Linked DNA regions of Homo sapiens: all the other regions are linked to region 3. Evidence: promoter capture Hi-C in human tissues and cell types (Jung and others, 2019). All regions are on one chromosome and are shown on one strand. The core of a region is centred on a gene start or on the middle of the fragment in contact, and the rest is flanking DNA. Distances in the headings are between cores, read along the strand shown.

Region 1 (4,424 bases), core at 328-2,827, 530 kb after region 3:
GCAGTAGGAGTGGCTCTGTAGTCCCTGAAAAGAGGATTAGCACCATGGAAACAGGGTGAATGTTCGGTTGTTGCCACAGGGACCTTCCCTGAGGGAGAAGTTAAAGTCTACTCACATCTTACTTCCTTAATCCTCTCTTCAGCCAGGTTTGGCCTCTCTAGCCCTGCCGAATGGGCAGTGTGGCAAGGATGGTAGGCCTGAACCCCCTTCTTTGGCCTCACAGATGACCTCTTGTGTGTCTTGCTAATTCAGAGCCACATATTCTGTACATTTCTAAGACTCTAGGCCCTGAGAGAGATAACAAGAAAGCATTAAAATAAATGATAAAGCTTAAAGATTTTATTTAGGTAAACAGACTTTTGCATAGTATTTAAGATTAATCAAAATCCCTTTTTATGGAATCAACTCTTTATTTAAACACCAAGATAAACTAAGCTTTCTTTCTTTCTTTTTTTTTTGAGATGGAGTCTCGCTCTGTTGCCCGGGCTGGAGTGCAGTGGTGCCATCTCAGCTCACTGCAAGCTCCGCCTCCCGGGTTCACGCCATTCTCCTGCCTCAGCCTCCCGCGTAGCTGGGACTACAGGTGCCCGCCACCAGGCCCGGCTAATTTTTTATATTTTTAGTAGAGACAGGGTTTCACTGTGTTAGCCAGGATGGTCTCGATCTCCTGACCTCATGATCCGCCCACCTTGGCCTCCCAAAGTGCTGGGATTATAGACGTGAGCCACCGTACCCAGCCCTAAACTAAGCTTTCATAACCAAGTTTTAAAATAGGAATTTGGATGTAACATTCCTTTTTTAAAAAGCCGGCCTGCTTAGCTGGGTGTGGTGGTGCACACGTATAATCCTAGCTACTTGGGAGGCTGAAGCAGCAGAATCTAGGAGGCGGAGGTTGCAGTGAGCTGAGATCATATCACTGCACTCCAGACTGGGCAACAGAGTGAGACTCAGTCTGAAAATAAAAAATTTAAAAAAATTTAAAAGCTGACCTGGCGTGGTGGCTCACACTTGTAATCCCAGTGCTTTGGGAGGCCAAGGAGTTCAAGGTTACAGTGAGCTATGATCGTGTCACTGTACTCCAGCCTGGGTGACAGAGCAAGACCCCATTTCTTTAAAAAAAAAAAAAAAAAAGCCTAGTAAGCTATTATATGAAATATATATATATATATGCCATTGTTTTACAATTGGCCATTATTTAATTATTTATGTAGTTATATGAATAGTACTTTATTTATTTATTTATTTATTTATTTTTGAGACGGAGTCTCGGTCTGTTGCCCAGGCTGGAGTGCAGTGGCACGATCTCGGCTCACCACAACCTCCACCTCCTGGCTTCAAGCAATTCTCCTGCTTCAGCCTCCCGAGTAGCTGGGATTATAGGTGCACACCGCCATGCCTGGCTAATTTTTGTATTTTTAATAGAGACGGGGTTTCACTATGTTGGCCAGGCTGGTCTCGATCTCCTGACCTCATGATCTGCCTGCCTCGGGCTCCCAAAGTGCTGGGATTACAGGTGTGAGCCACTGCACCCAGCCTGAACAGTACTTTAAAACTAAAAGACAAAGGATATTTAATGACCATGAAAAGTAAAAAAGTCTTTTGGCATTAGAGAGATTATTTTCTTAAATAAAAAATGTTGCCTTGGTGAGCAGTGGTCTCTATACACATGATCTTAGTGTATTTGAACAGAATTTTTTCCTCTGTAACCTTCTGTCTTGCTAGCAACCACTATGCTAGTTGGAAGCTGTTCTGCATCTTTAAAAGAGACACTTGGGATGGTGCAGCACATGGTATGGAGAGGGTGGCCTGCTGGATGCTGGGGTCCAGAGGAGATGCTGTTGACTTCCCACAGTCCTGGCTTTGTTCTTCAGCCTAACAGACCTAGACAGACAGCTTCCATCTCAGGAACTCCACACACTCCTGTTAACCAAGCTCAGGCACTACTGAGTGGCTTAGACTCTTCCAGTCTGAGCGTTGGTGCGCTTTCACACTGTGCATGCCTCCTGGGCCACCGTAGTATCGGGATGTCTTTGGTGAGCCTGGAACTAGATCCAAGGTAGTTAGGGTGACCTTAAGAGGGGCCTCTCAGCAACTGTAGGATCATCTTGCAAAAGATTGACTGACTCTCTTTGCTGTTGGAGTGACCCATCCAGTCCTGACTGCCTTTTGTCCATTTATTTATTTTTATTTTATTTTATTTTTTTAAGACGGAGTCTTGCTCTTTCTCGCCCAGGCTGGAGTACAGTGGCATGATCTCGGCTTACTGAAGCCTCTGCCTCCCAGGTTTAAGCGACTCTTCCTTCCTCAGCCTCCCAAGTAGCAGGCAGATGCCTGCCACCACACCTGGCTGATTTTGTATTTTTAATAGAGATGGGGTTTCACCATGTTGGCCAGGCTTGTCTTGAATTTCTGACCTCAGGTGATCCACCTCCCTTGACCTCCCAAGGTGTTGGGATTACAGGCGTGCACGTCCGGCCTCTCCATTTATTCTTCTGCCTGTTTGCTGAACAGTCCCCTGTCTCCTTCTAGTTTTTTTTAAAGACTTACTGGTGTTTTGAAACTGGTCACTATCCAGTTTTCTTGCTCAGCAGGCCACTAGTTCCTCTCACATGACTGATCTTTTACTAATGGTTTTCAAGCTTAAGTCTGAGGAGGTGGTCTTATTTTTCTTATTTCCAAGTCCTTGTACTTGCTGGAATTAGGAAGAGAGAGGGTTCCTCCTTCTTGGAACCCCCAAATACCAACAAGAAATATGATGGAGGAGGATAAACTACATAGGGCCCAGAGCAATGGGTAGGGCGCTTTGCTGGACCACACATTCCTTCTCTCGCTGTGTTTGTTGCAGGCTTGCCACATTTCAGACACAGGTGAGTGTTAGGGATATAGTGGCAAGCAAGGCAGACTCAGCCTTTGCCCTCGTGGAACTTGATCTAGTGGGAGAGACATATATTAAACAAATCATCCCATTACCTGTAATGACAAACCATAGTAAATGCTCAAAGGAGAACATGTGATATCATAGCACCTGTAACACAAGGACCAGATTCAGGGTATAGGGTTGGGGAAGGCTTCCCTAAAGAATAGCTCACAAGAAACAGAGGATTTAGAAAGGTGGAGAGGAAGGTAGGGCTGCATCTGAGGACAGGAGAGGATTGCGCAGTAGGTTGCAGGCTGCTTGATGAAGAGGTACTGGGTGGGCCTTTCTTTTGCTGCACTCCAGGGTCCAGAAGGTGCTCAGTACAGGTTGGTGCATGGACTAGAAAGGCTACAGGCAGGCTGGGATAGCACAGGGGCTACCTGCAGGGGGTGGTTCTTGTCAAAGGTGCAGGGTTCCCAGATGGTCTCTCCCCAAATGCCAGAGCTTTAGGGGGTAGCTTAGGGAAGAACAAACATCTTTCTGTAGAGAAATACTTGTTCTCACAAGCAAGACAGCTTTCTAGATATTGAACCAATGATGATAATGTTAATTAATACCTGAAATCTTACATTAAATATTTAAAGGGGTCCTGCATGGTGGTTCATGCCTGTAATCCTAGCACTTTCAAAGTGGCCAAGGCAGGTGGATCACCTGAGGTCAGGAGTTCGAGGCCAGCCTGGCCAACATGATGAAACCCCATCTCTACTAAAAATAACAAAAATTAGCCAGGCGTGGTGGTGTGTGCCTGTAATACCATCTCCTCAGGAGGCTGAGGCAGGAGAATCGCCTGTACCCGGGAGGCGGAGGTTGCAGTGAGTCGAGATCATTGCCATTGTACTCCAGCCCAGGCAACAAGAGCGAAACTCTGTCTCAAAAGAAAAAAAAAGGCCAGGCCCAGTGGCTCATGCCTGTAATCCTAGCAGTTTGGGAGGCCGAGGTGGGTGGATCACCTGAGGTCAGGAGTTTGAGACCAAAATACAAAAATTCGCCGGGCGTGGTGGCACATGCCTGTAATCCCAGCTACTTTGGAGGCTGAGGCAGGAGAATCGCTTGAACCTAGGAGGCAGAGATTACAGTGAGCTGAGATGGCGCCACTGCACTCCAGCCTGGGCGACACAGTGAGACTCCATCTCAAAAAAATAAATAAATAAGTAAATAAATAAAGGGAGAAAATAATAACAGAGTATTCTGTGCCACTGATGATTGCGTATCAATCAGGAATTAATATGAAGCAAATCAGAGTTTATGATATACAAATAGACCTTTTCAAGACCCTATAGATTTTCATTTTTCTTGACAGGATGCTAAAACACCAGGCTCTCTGATTTTCAACATGGGAAAGCTTTTTATTTTTTATTTTATTTTATTTTATTTTATTTTATTTATTTTATTTTATTTTATTTTATTATTTTATTTATTTTATTTTTTGAGATGGAGTCTCGCTTTGTCGCCAGGCTGGAGTGCAGTGGCACGATCTCGGCTCACTGCGACCTCCGCCTCCCGGGTT
Region 2 (5,158 bases), core at 1,339-3,838, 530 kb before region 3:
GAGAACAAGACTGAGTAGCTTTCTTCCTCATTCTTGCTTTGGAAGACAAATAGTATTGGGTTTTTCACCACCACTACTACCACTACCATTATCATTATCTTTTACAGAGCTGTGTGCCAGAAACTATGCTTAAGTGCTTAACAAATACTATCTCCTTTGATGCTTATAATAATTATGAAAGCACTATTTGTTTTCCTCATTTTACATAGGTGAAAACTGAAATTCTGAGAAGTCAAGTGACATATCTGAAGTGAAACAACTAGCTAGAAGCAAGGCTGAGATTCAAACCTAGGCAGTATAATTACAGAGCTTACACACAACCATGACACTCTATTATTCCTCTAATTCCTTACCTTGGCCTCTCAACAGGTTTGTAAAATAGGAATTCTTAGTTTCATTTTATAGGTGAACAAATGAAGCATTGAAGGGTTATGTAGTGAATAAGGTCATAGAGTGAATAAGTGGTAGAGCCAGGATTCAAATTCAAGTCTGCCTGACTCCTTGCTTGTACCACTAGGCCATGCAGCCTCCCCAGCAGGAAATTTCTAAGACTGCTTCTCCCAGGAATTTAGCTGTCTAGGAGATACTACTATACCGAATCCAAATAGGACTTAGAAATTCCAATAATTGGGGTGTTGCTTCTGCCACAATCTATGAGCACTCAGAGTTGATCTATTGTTTTTGTATTGTTTTGTTTTGTTTTGTTTTTTTGGAGACAGGATCTTGCTCTGTTGCCCAGCCTGGAGAGCAGCGGCATGATCTTGGCTTACTGCAACCTCTGCCCTGCCTCCCCTGCTCAAGCAATCCTGCCACCTCAGCCTCCTGAGTAGGTGGGACTACAGACATGCACCACCACGTTTGGCTAATTTTTGTATTTTGTATTTAGTATTTTTTGTAATGATGGGGTTTCACCATGTTGCCCAGGCTGTTCTCAAACTCCTGAACTCAAGCGATCCACCTGTCTTGGCCTCCCAAAGTGCTGGGATTAGTGTGAGCCACCATGTCTGGCCTGATTAATTATTTAAGCTAGCCAATAGGAGCAGCTTGGATGCTTCATGGGAGAGTTAAATTGAAACTCACTCAATATCTTTGCCCAGTTTGTGTGATATATTGAGAAGAGCCTTAACCTGAGAGACAAGAAATTTAGGTTCTCCTTTCAACTCTGCCATTAACATGTTATATAACCACAGACAAGGCATTTAACTAAGAGTCAGTTTCCTCTTCCATAAAATGGGGATAATAATTCTATCCTTGTTTTTCTCTCTAGATTGTTGTAAGAATCAAATGAGATAACGTTGTAAAAGCACTTATTTGTTTATTGGAAAACACTGTATAGGTGTGAGTGGTCTATTATTATACTACCATTGCTTAGTTGGGGGCCAGTTTGTCACTGAAATTCACTGTCCATTGTGTCTGTTGAGACTCTCTTTAGCTTCTGCTCTAGAGCTTTATGCTTGAGCTCCAGCCAACACTTGGGCTCATTTCCCAGGCTCTTTAAAGATCAGAAAACCTTTAAAGATCTTCAAAGGAGGCCGGGCATGGTGGCTCATGCCTGTAATCCCAGCACTTTGGGAGGCTGAGGCAAGAGGGTTGCTTGAGCTTAGGAGTTTGAGACCAGCCTGGGCAACACAGTGAGACCCCCATCTCTATTTCACAAAAAAGAAAGAAATAGGCTGGGCATGGTGCCTCATGCCTGTAATCCCAGCACTTTGGGAGACCAAGGCAGGTGGATTGCTTGAGCTCAAGAGTTCGAGACCAGCCTGGGCAACATGGCAAAACTCCCTCTCTACATAAAAGACAAAAATTAGCTGGGCATGGTGGTGCACGCCTGTAGTCCCACCTACTTGAAAGGCTGTGGTGGGAGGATTGCTTGAGCCCAGGAGGCGGAGGTTGCAGTGAGCACAGATCACACCACTGTACTCCAGCCTGGGCAACAGAGCAAGACCCTGTCTCAAAAAGTAATAGTAATAAAAATAAAATAAGAAAAATAAAAAGAGGAAAAAAAAGATCATAAAAGGAAATGCTTGTATCTGAATTTGTTCCCTGGTTTGAAAGAACTCAGGTGCCTAATGGAAAACAGAATACACAGGCCAGAGTTTTCAATCACTGGAGAGTTTTCCAGAATCCTGAGGCCCTTTCTTTCTAGAGACACCAGTTCCCCTACCACCCTTACCTGAACAGGCTCTGGAGAGCCTCTCTTTCCCCATCTGTAAAATGAGAGGAGTAGACTAGATCAGCATTTTCCAAAGAATGCTTCAGGAACTGCTAATTACTGGAGATATTAGTAGGGGGCTTCTTAATTCATAAAATGATTGAGTCTGAGAAACACTACATAATAAATTGCCTTTGTGTGAGATTCCCAATGTGTATTAGCATAGTAAAATCTCCAAGATGTCCTATATTAGAGATACCTGATTAATTTTGTTTAACATAGGATTTCCTGAATTTATTGAAGCCCCAAACACTTTTTGCCAGCATGCTATTGATATCACAAGAAGCAGTATTCCATGGAACACCCACTGGGGAAGCACTGGATTAAATAATCTCTAAATTTACTTCCAGTGCAAAATTCTGTAACTCAAAAACAAGACATCCTCACTCCATTTTTACATTGGTCACTCCCTCAACAAGAATTGTTAAAGATATTGGATACTCAGGGCTGCATTAGGCATTATGGATATGGGGGTAAAAAGGCAGGAGACAAGTACCATATAGGCAATTACTATTTAATTATTTTATGTTTATAGTAAAGCAAAAGCAAAATACAAATAAATTGCATTTTATTATAAGAAAGTAAAGTGCAAATATGCCGGATATGTGGTTACATCCCTTTGTTGCCTCTATATTTTTAAATGATATGCTTATACTGCTATTTTTCATCATTTTTAAAGAAAGTATTGATTTCTTACTACGATAGATAAGAATTTAGTTCTTATATACCTCTCTAACTTCCTTCTCTCTTCTTCTCAATATAATTATAGCTGTTTTCTAGTTAATTTAAAATCAGTTTACATAAGAATAGCATACTGTGGTTATATTTCCTTTTATGTACGGATTTTTATTTACTCTGAAGTTAATAATTGCTTACTGGGCTGGGTGCAGTGGCTTATACCTGTAATCCCAACACTTTGGGAAGCAGAGGCGGGCAGATCACCTGAGGTCAGGAGTTCTAGACAAGCCTGGCCAAAATAGTGAAACCTCATCTCTACTAAAAATACAAAAAAAAAATTAGCTGGGCATGGTAGTGCACACCTGCAGTCCCAGCTACTTGGGAGGCTGAGGCAGAAGAATCGCGTGAACCTGGGAGGCAGAGGTTGCAGTGAGCCAAGATCACACCACTGCCCTCCAGCCTGGGTGACAGAGCAAGACTCTGTCTCAAAAAACAATAAAAGTAATAATAATAATTGCTTACCGTTTTTCTTTTTGTACTATTTAAGCCTTTATCATATATTTAATATTTTCCAATCTCACTATCATATGAAATCCTCCTTTTCCTCCCAAAGTTCTCCCTCTTGGAGCTCACTTCTTTCTGTTCTAATTCTTACTAATGCTTTTAAAAATGACATCTTTTCTGTGATTCGCTCCAATTGATATACTTCTTATAGAAACACATTATGGCTTTCTTCTTAACTTTATGTCATTTAGACAGCTATGGTGGCATTAACAAGCCACATTTGTAGCTAGTTTCTTGTTTTGGAACATACATTGTGTAGTCATTGAAATTATCCACAAAGGAAATGGTGCTCTTAGGAAAGTACTCCCATTATCCAAAATAGAACCATATTAAGGAATAATTTGGCCTTTTACTTTTGGCTTGACACATTGCAAATGTTCACGGAATAGTAGTATTTTTAGAACTTGAAGTGACCGTTAGAGTCCATCTAGGCCAACTCTCTTCAAAGATTGGTAGATTAAGGGACAAAGAAGCTAAGTGATTTGCCTAAGGGTCATACACCTGTTTGAAGACAGAACTGAGACTAATCTCCAGATACTCTCACTCCTAGTCAACTATTTTTTTTCACTCGTGACACTACCTCATTATTCTAGTAGTCCAGCACTTGGCTGTGACAGATAAAAAGAGAAATTAGCCACATTAGCCAAACTGATTTAAATTAACTTTAAAATACCAGATAAAATGTGTTATTAGGTTTAAATGTCCCAGACCCTAGTCTCATGGAATTTACATTCTATTTGGAAAGACCAAATAGATTGGCCGGGCACAATGGCTCATGCCTGTAATCCCAGCACTTTGGGAAGCCAAGGCAGGTGGATCACCTGAGGTCAGGAGTTCGAGACCAGCCTGGCCAACATGGTGAAACCCTGTCTCTACTAAAAAATACAAAAATCAGCTGGATGTGGTGGCAGGTGCCTGTAATTGCAGCTACTTGGGAGGCTGAGGCAGGAGAATGGCTTGAACCCAGGAGGCAGAGGTTGTAGTGAGCCGAGATCGTGCCATTGCACTCCACCCTGGGCGACAAGAGCGAAACTCCATCTCAAAAACAAAATAAAACAAAACAAATAGATCTACATAAAAACAGCCTGGGCCAGGCATAGTGGCTCACGCCTGTAATCCCAACACTTTGGGAGGCTGAGGCGGGCGGATCACCTTAGGTCAGGAGTTCAAGATCAGCCTGGCCAACAAGACGAAACCCCATCTCTACTAAAAATACAAAAATAGCCAGGTGTGGTGGCGCACTCCTGTAATCCCAGCTACTTGGGAGGCTGAGACAGGAGAATTGCTTGAACCCAGGAGACAGAGGTTGCAGTGAGCCGAGATCAAGCCAATGTACTCCAGCCTGGGCAACAGAGCAAGACTCCATCAAAAAAAAAAAAAAAAAAAAAAGCCTGAAAAGAATTATGGGCCAAACTGCAAAGAGCTACTTACACAAATAGTTCACAGAAAGGAAAAAGCCTTATAGGGAGGCAGGATAATATAAAGATTAGGAGAATGGGTGTTTTGGTGTCAGACTAACCCAGTTTGAGTCCTATTTTTGCCACTAATTAGCTGTCTGATCTTGGGCAAGTTACTTAACCTCTTTGAGCCTCAGTTTTCTCAACTGTTAAACGTGGATAAAAATAGCTTTTATCTCATGGAGTTGTCAGTTTTGTAAGATTGAATAGGATAAAAAAAAACATGTCAAATTCCTGGCACATTGAA
Region 3 (4,466 bases), core at 1,536-4,035:
GCCAAGCACAGTGGCTCATGCCTGTAATCCCAGCACTTTGGGAGGCCAAGGCGGGCAGATCACCTGAGGTCAGGAATTCAAGATCAGCCTGGCTAAAATGGTGAAACCCCATTTCTACTAAAAATACAAAAAATTAGCTGAACGTAGTGGCACGTGCCTGTAATCCCAGCTACTCAGGAGGCTGAGGCAGGAGAATCGCTTGAACCCGGGAGGCAGAGGTTGCAGTGAGCCAAGATCACGCCATTGCACTCCAGCTTGCGCAACAAGAGCAAAACTCCGTCTCAGAAAAAAAAAAAAAAGTTTAAAAGGTAAATTTTGTTACATGTATTTTACCACAACTTTTTTTTAATTTTCTAAAGTACAGGGTGGCTTTCTGCAATTTTTACTATTTCCAAAGAAAAGCAGAAATGATCAGCAATGCCCAGGACAACTCATAAAAACCATAAGCATGTCCAGTTCCACTGATCAAATGTCCAGGCTCTCTGCTGTAGTCATTCAACAATAGCAGTGTTTTAGTTTCCTCCTCCTTCCCAAAACCATCACTGGAGAAGGGAAAATATTGGCTGACAAGACAAAAAGAGGAAAAAATAAAGCAAGACTAACAAGAATGTTTCAGGAATACTTCTTTTTTTTTTTCAGACAGAGTTTCACTCTTTCACCCAGGCTGGACTGCAGTGGCACAATCTCAGCTCACTGCAACCTCCGCCTCCTGGGTTGAAGCAATTCTCGTGTCTCAGCCTCACGAGTAGCTGGGATTACAGGCGCCCACCACCAGGCCTGGCTAATTTTTGTATTTTTAGTAGAGACAGGGTTTCACCACGTTGGCCAGGCTGGTCTTGAACTCCTGGCCTCAAGTGATCCACCTACCTCAGCCTCCCAATGTGCTGGGATTACAGGTGTGAGCCACGGCACCTGGCCAGGAATACCTCTCTGTGGTTCAGTTTTCTTATCTGTAAAATAGAGGAAATAACACGCCCTCCTTTCCAAAGGGATGTTATAAGGATTAGGTAAGTATTTTAAAGTGCTTAGCACGTAGTAAGTGCCCTATAAAATGATAGTTGTCAGGCCAGGCTCGGTGGCTCATGCCTGTTATCCCAGCACTTTGGGAGGCCGCAGGAGGCGGATCATGAGGTCAGGAGTTCGAGACCAGTCTGGCCAACATGGTGAAACTCCATCTCTACTAAAAATACAAAAGTTAGCCAGGTGTGGTGGCAGGCGCCTGTAATCCCAGCTACTTGGGAGGCTGAAGCAGGAGAACTGCTTGAACCCAGGAGGCAGAGGTTGCAGTGAGCCGAGATCACACCGCTGAACTCCACCCTGGGTGACAGAGCGAGACTCCATCTCAAAAAAAAAAAAAATACAAAAATTAGTCAGGTGTGGTGTGGTGCATGCCTGTCATCCCAGCTACTCGGGAGGCTGGCACAGGAGAATTGCTTGAACCCGGGAGCAGAAGTTGCAGTGAGCCCGAGATGGCACCACTGCACTCCAGCTTCGGCGACAGAGCAAGACTCTGCCTCAAAAAAAAAAAAAAAAAAAACAAAACCCTAAAGGGTGGCAGGGGAAGGATTAAAAAAAAAAAAAAAAAAAAAACCACTAAATTCAGAACATTCTAATTGCCATTTCCCCAGCAGTCCTCATTTCTGAATCAATTTCTGGCCTGAAATCAAACAATCACTTCACCAGGTGAATCTTTCTGGCAGTTACAGGGGCTACTCTACAAATAAATATTTACTGAACAGCAGTCGAGGGTACCTCACTCTGCTAGGCTGGCAAGGAATACAAGAAGTAAAACTGTCGTCCTTGTAAGACATATATAAAAAGATCAAAAACACAAATGTAAAATAACAATTCAGAAGTTACCTAGACACAGGAATAGACCATGTCTACTATGAAAAACAGTGTCTTTGACCCAGTTTTTGAAGACTCGCTAAAACTATACACTCTCCCATCCCTCCATGATTAAAAACTAAGCTCTGTATCCTAACGTTTTTTCTGCTGCCACTTTCTTTTCTCCTTTAATTGCTAGAGAAAAGAGTATGCTAGAAGGGTCAGGACTAAATCTCAAGAGGTGCAGTAGTTTCACACACGGGTGCTAAAGAGTCTGGTAGTCTTTCCTTACTTCATTCATTTATTCAACAAGTAATCATTTAACACCTATGATGTGCCAGACACCATGCTAGGCAAAGTGAAAACGACGGAGACAGACATGACTCCAATTCTCACGCAGCTTTCAATCTAATAATCTATATTCCACTTAACTGTACAGTTAAGAACTGACTTATTACCTATGAAAGAAACCCTGAGAATCTCAGAATCTAAAGGGACTGCAGGAGATAAATGTCCTCGTTTTTCACATAGGGTCAATGAGGCCCAAAAGTGACTTGCTTAAAGTCACTATGCATCAGTGACAGTCAGGGACTAGAACCCAGGCCTCCTGAAACTCCAATCAGTGTCCTACATGCTCCTCTCCCTGAGGGGAAGCAGGTACATGGGGGAGGGAAGGAAAAGTAAACCCCATCAAATAAAGGCCAGATGTCAGTCTTCCCCTTCTCGAAAGATGGGGGAGCTAAGGTCAAAACGGGGTAGGAAGAGGTCGGAAGCTGCCTCAGTTTCCCCACGGAAAAGCGGCCACTCAGCCTAGCTATAACACAGGCTTCCCTCCTGCGATTCCTTCCAATTCCTCCCGCCCTGCCTTGTCGAACTCCAACCCGGGACCCAGAGAGCTACCGTAGAAAATTACTCCTTCACTCACAAGGACTCGCACCAGCAACGCCATGTTCCTCAATAACCATTTCCGGGTGAAGAGTGAGTTTCCGGTGTCCCCTTTTCTACGTCCTCCTTTTGCCGGCGAAAGACTGGCAAGGGGGGCGCAGGCGCAAAGAGGTCGCTACGCGCACGCGCTGTTGTTTTCTCGGCTGTGCACCAGGCTGTCGTGCCCGGGCACGCTCTCCCTGCTGTCTCCCCCACTACACGTAACAGTGGTTCAAATCCTTCCCCCACGCCTGTCTCCTTGACCCCAGACCTCGGGGCTTCTCATATCCCTCTCTTTATTCCCCACCTAACCCAGCCTCACTCCTCAGCCCCTCCTTCCCAAACTCCACCCCAACACTTTTCAATGGAGGTTGAAAAGAACAGGACTTTAGGAAATCCCAATCTTTAGAAAGAGCCAGAAGACCGGGCGCGGTGGCTCACGCCTGTAATCCCAGCACTTTGGGAGGCCGAGGCGGGCGGATCACCTGAGATCAGGAGTTCGAGACTAGCCTGGCCAACATGGCAAAACCCCGTCCCTAACTAAAAATACAAAGAAAGTAGCCGGGCATGTTGGTGTGTGCCTGTAATCCCAGCTACTCTGAAGGCAGAGGTTGCAGTGAGCCGAGATCGCGCCACTGCACTCCAGCCTGGGCGACAGAGCAGGACTGGACTCTGTCTCAAAAAAAAAAAAAAAAAAAAAAAAAAAAAAGCCAGAGAAGGAGGCTAAGATAAAAGAATACGGGGGATACCAGACTCCTGAAAGTCAAGGCAAGAAGGCGGTCATGTGCCGATCTGAAGCCTGGTAGAGGAAGAAACTTTTGGGATTTGTGGTTGGTTGGTTGTTTAAGGGAAACATCTTTGCATATTGATAGGAAAAGATTAGTGAAGAGTATACAGGGCCGTGCCCGGTGGCTCATGCCTGTAATCCCAACACTTTGGGAGGCCGAGGCAGGTGGATTGCCTGAGGTCAGGAGTTCAAGACCAGCCTGACCAATATGGTGAAACCCCGTCTCTACTGAAAATACGAAAAAAATTAGCCGGGCATGGTGGCGTGTGCCTGTAATCCCAGCTACTTGGGAGGCTGAGGCAGGGAATCGCTTGAACCCGGGAGGCAGAGGTTGCAGTGAGCTGAGACTGGGGCACTGAACTCCAGCCTGGGTGACAAAGCGAGACTCCGTCTCAAAAAAAAAAAAAAAAAAAGAGTATACAGGAGAATCAATCAAAGAGGCAAGGAGCTTCTTGAGGAAAGTGGCAGAGAACGGCCTTGGTAGAAGACTCCTCTTCCATTACATCCCAAGAGAAGAGAAGACAAAGTACTGGTGCTTTGGGGGTTGAGGGAGCAGAGGGGCAGGATGTTGAAGGACTTCTTTCATTTCATTCAGTCAACAAAGACCTATTGAGTCTTCCCTATGTGCTGAACACAAGACATACTGGCTTCATGGAGTTCTTAGACTGGTGGGGGAGGCATAGGAACCCAGTGAAAAAAATTAAAACTGGGGAGCTACTTTGGTTAGGTTGGTAAGGCCTCTCCAAGAAAGTGACATGTAAGATGAAATCTAAAGGAAGAAGAGGAGCTAGTCATGGGAAATAACTTCACTCGACTATTTTTTTAATTAAATTTATTGATTTTTATTAATTGACAAAAAATATATATTGTGTACAACAGGATGTTTTCTTTTTTCTTTTTTTTTTTTTTTTTGAGACAGAGTTTCACT

Evidence for each region. The method cuts DNA at HindIII sites, captures the fragments that hold promoters and counts their contacts. A contact is called where the count stands out against the background at its distance.
Region 1: a contact is called between a fragment that was not itself captured here and the fragment with the promoter of UQCC1 in region 3, in 2 of the 25 tissues and cell types used here (dorsolateral prefrontal cortex and psoas muscle).
Region 2: a fragment that was not itself captured here is called in contact with the fragment with the promoter of UQCC1 in region 3 in 1 of the 25 tissues and cell types used here (IMR-90 fibroblasts).

The regions. Positions count from the first base shown.
Region 1 is chr20:35,942,384-35,946,807 of GRCh38, forward strand. All of the region lies in intron 17 of PHF20 (PHD finger protein 20), which reads left to right. Among named protein-coding and RNA genes, the nearest start is that of SCAND1, 9.9 kb to the right of the region's middle. The HindIII fragment of the contact is 3,743 bases long and covers 1-3,449 here.
Region 2 is chr20:34,883,247-34,888,404 of GRCh38, forward strand. The region is part of intron 2 of ACSS2 (acyl-CoA synthetase short chain family member 2); the gene reads left to right. Among named protein-coding and RNA genes, the nearest start is that of ACSS2, 9.2 kb to the left of the region's middle. The HindIII fragment of the contact is 9,492 bases long and covers 1-5,158 here.
Region 3 is chr20:35,409,188-35,413,653 of GRCh38, forward strand. It overlaps UQCC1 (ubiquinol-cytochrome c reductase complex assembly factor 1), which reads right to left and starts at 2,786. Exons shown (of 10, transcript NM_018244.5): 1 at 2,753-2,786. The coding sequence starts at 2,776. RefSeq lists enhancers at 2,118-2,941, 2,532-2,631, 2,692-2,841, 2,942-3,764, 2,972-3,021. The HindIII fragment of the contact is 20,339 bases long and covers 1-4,466 here.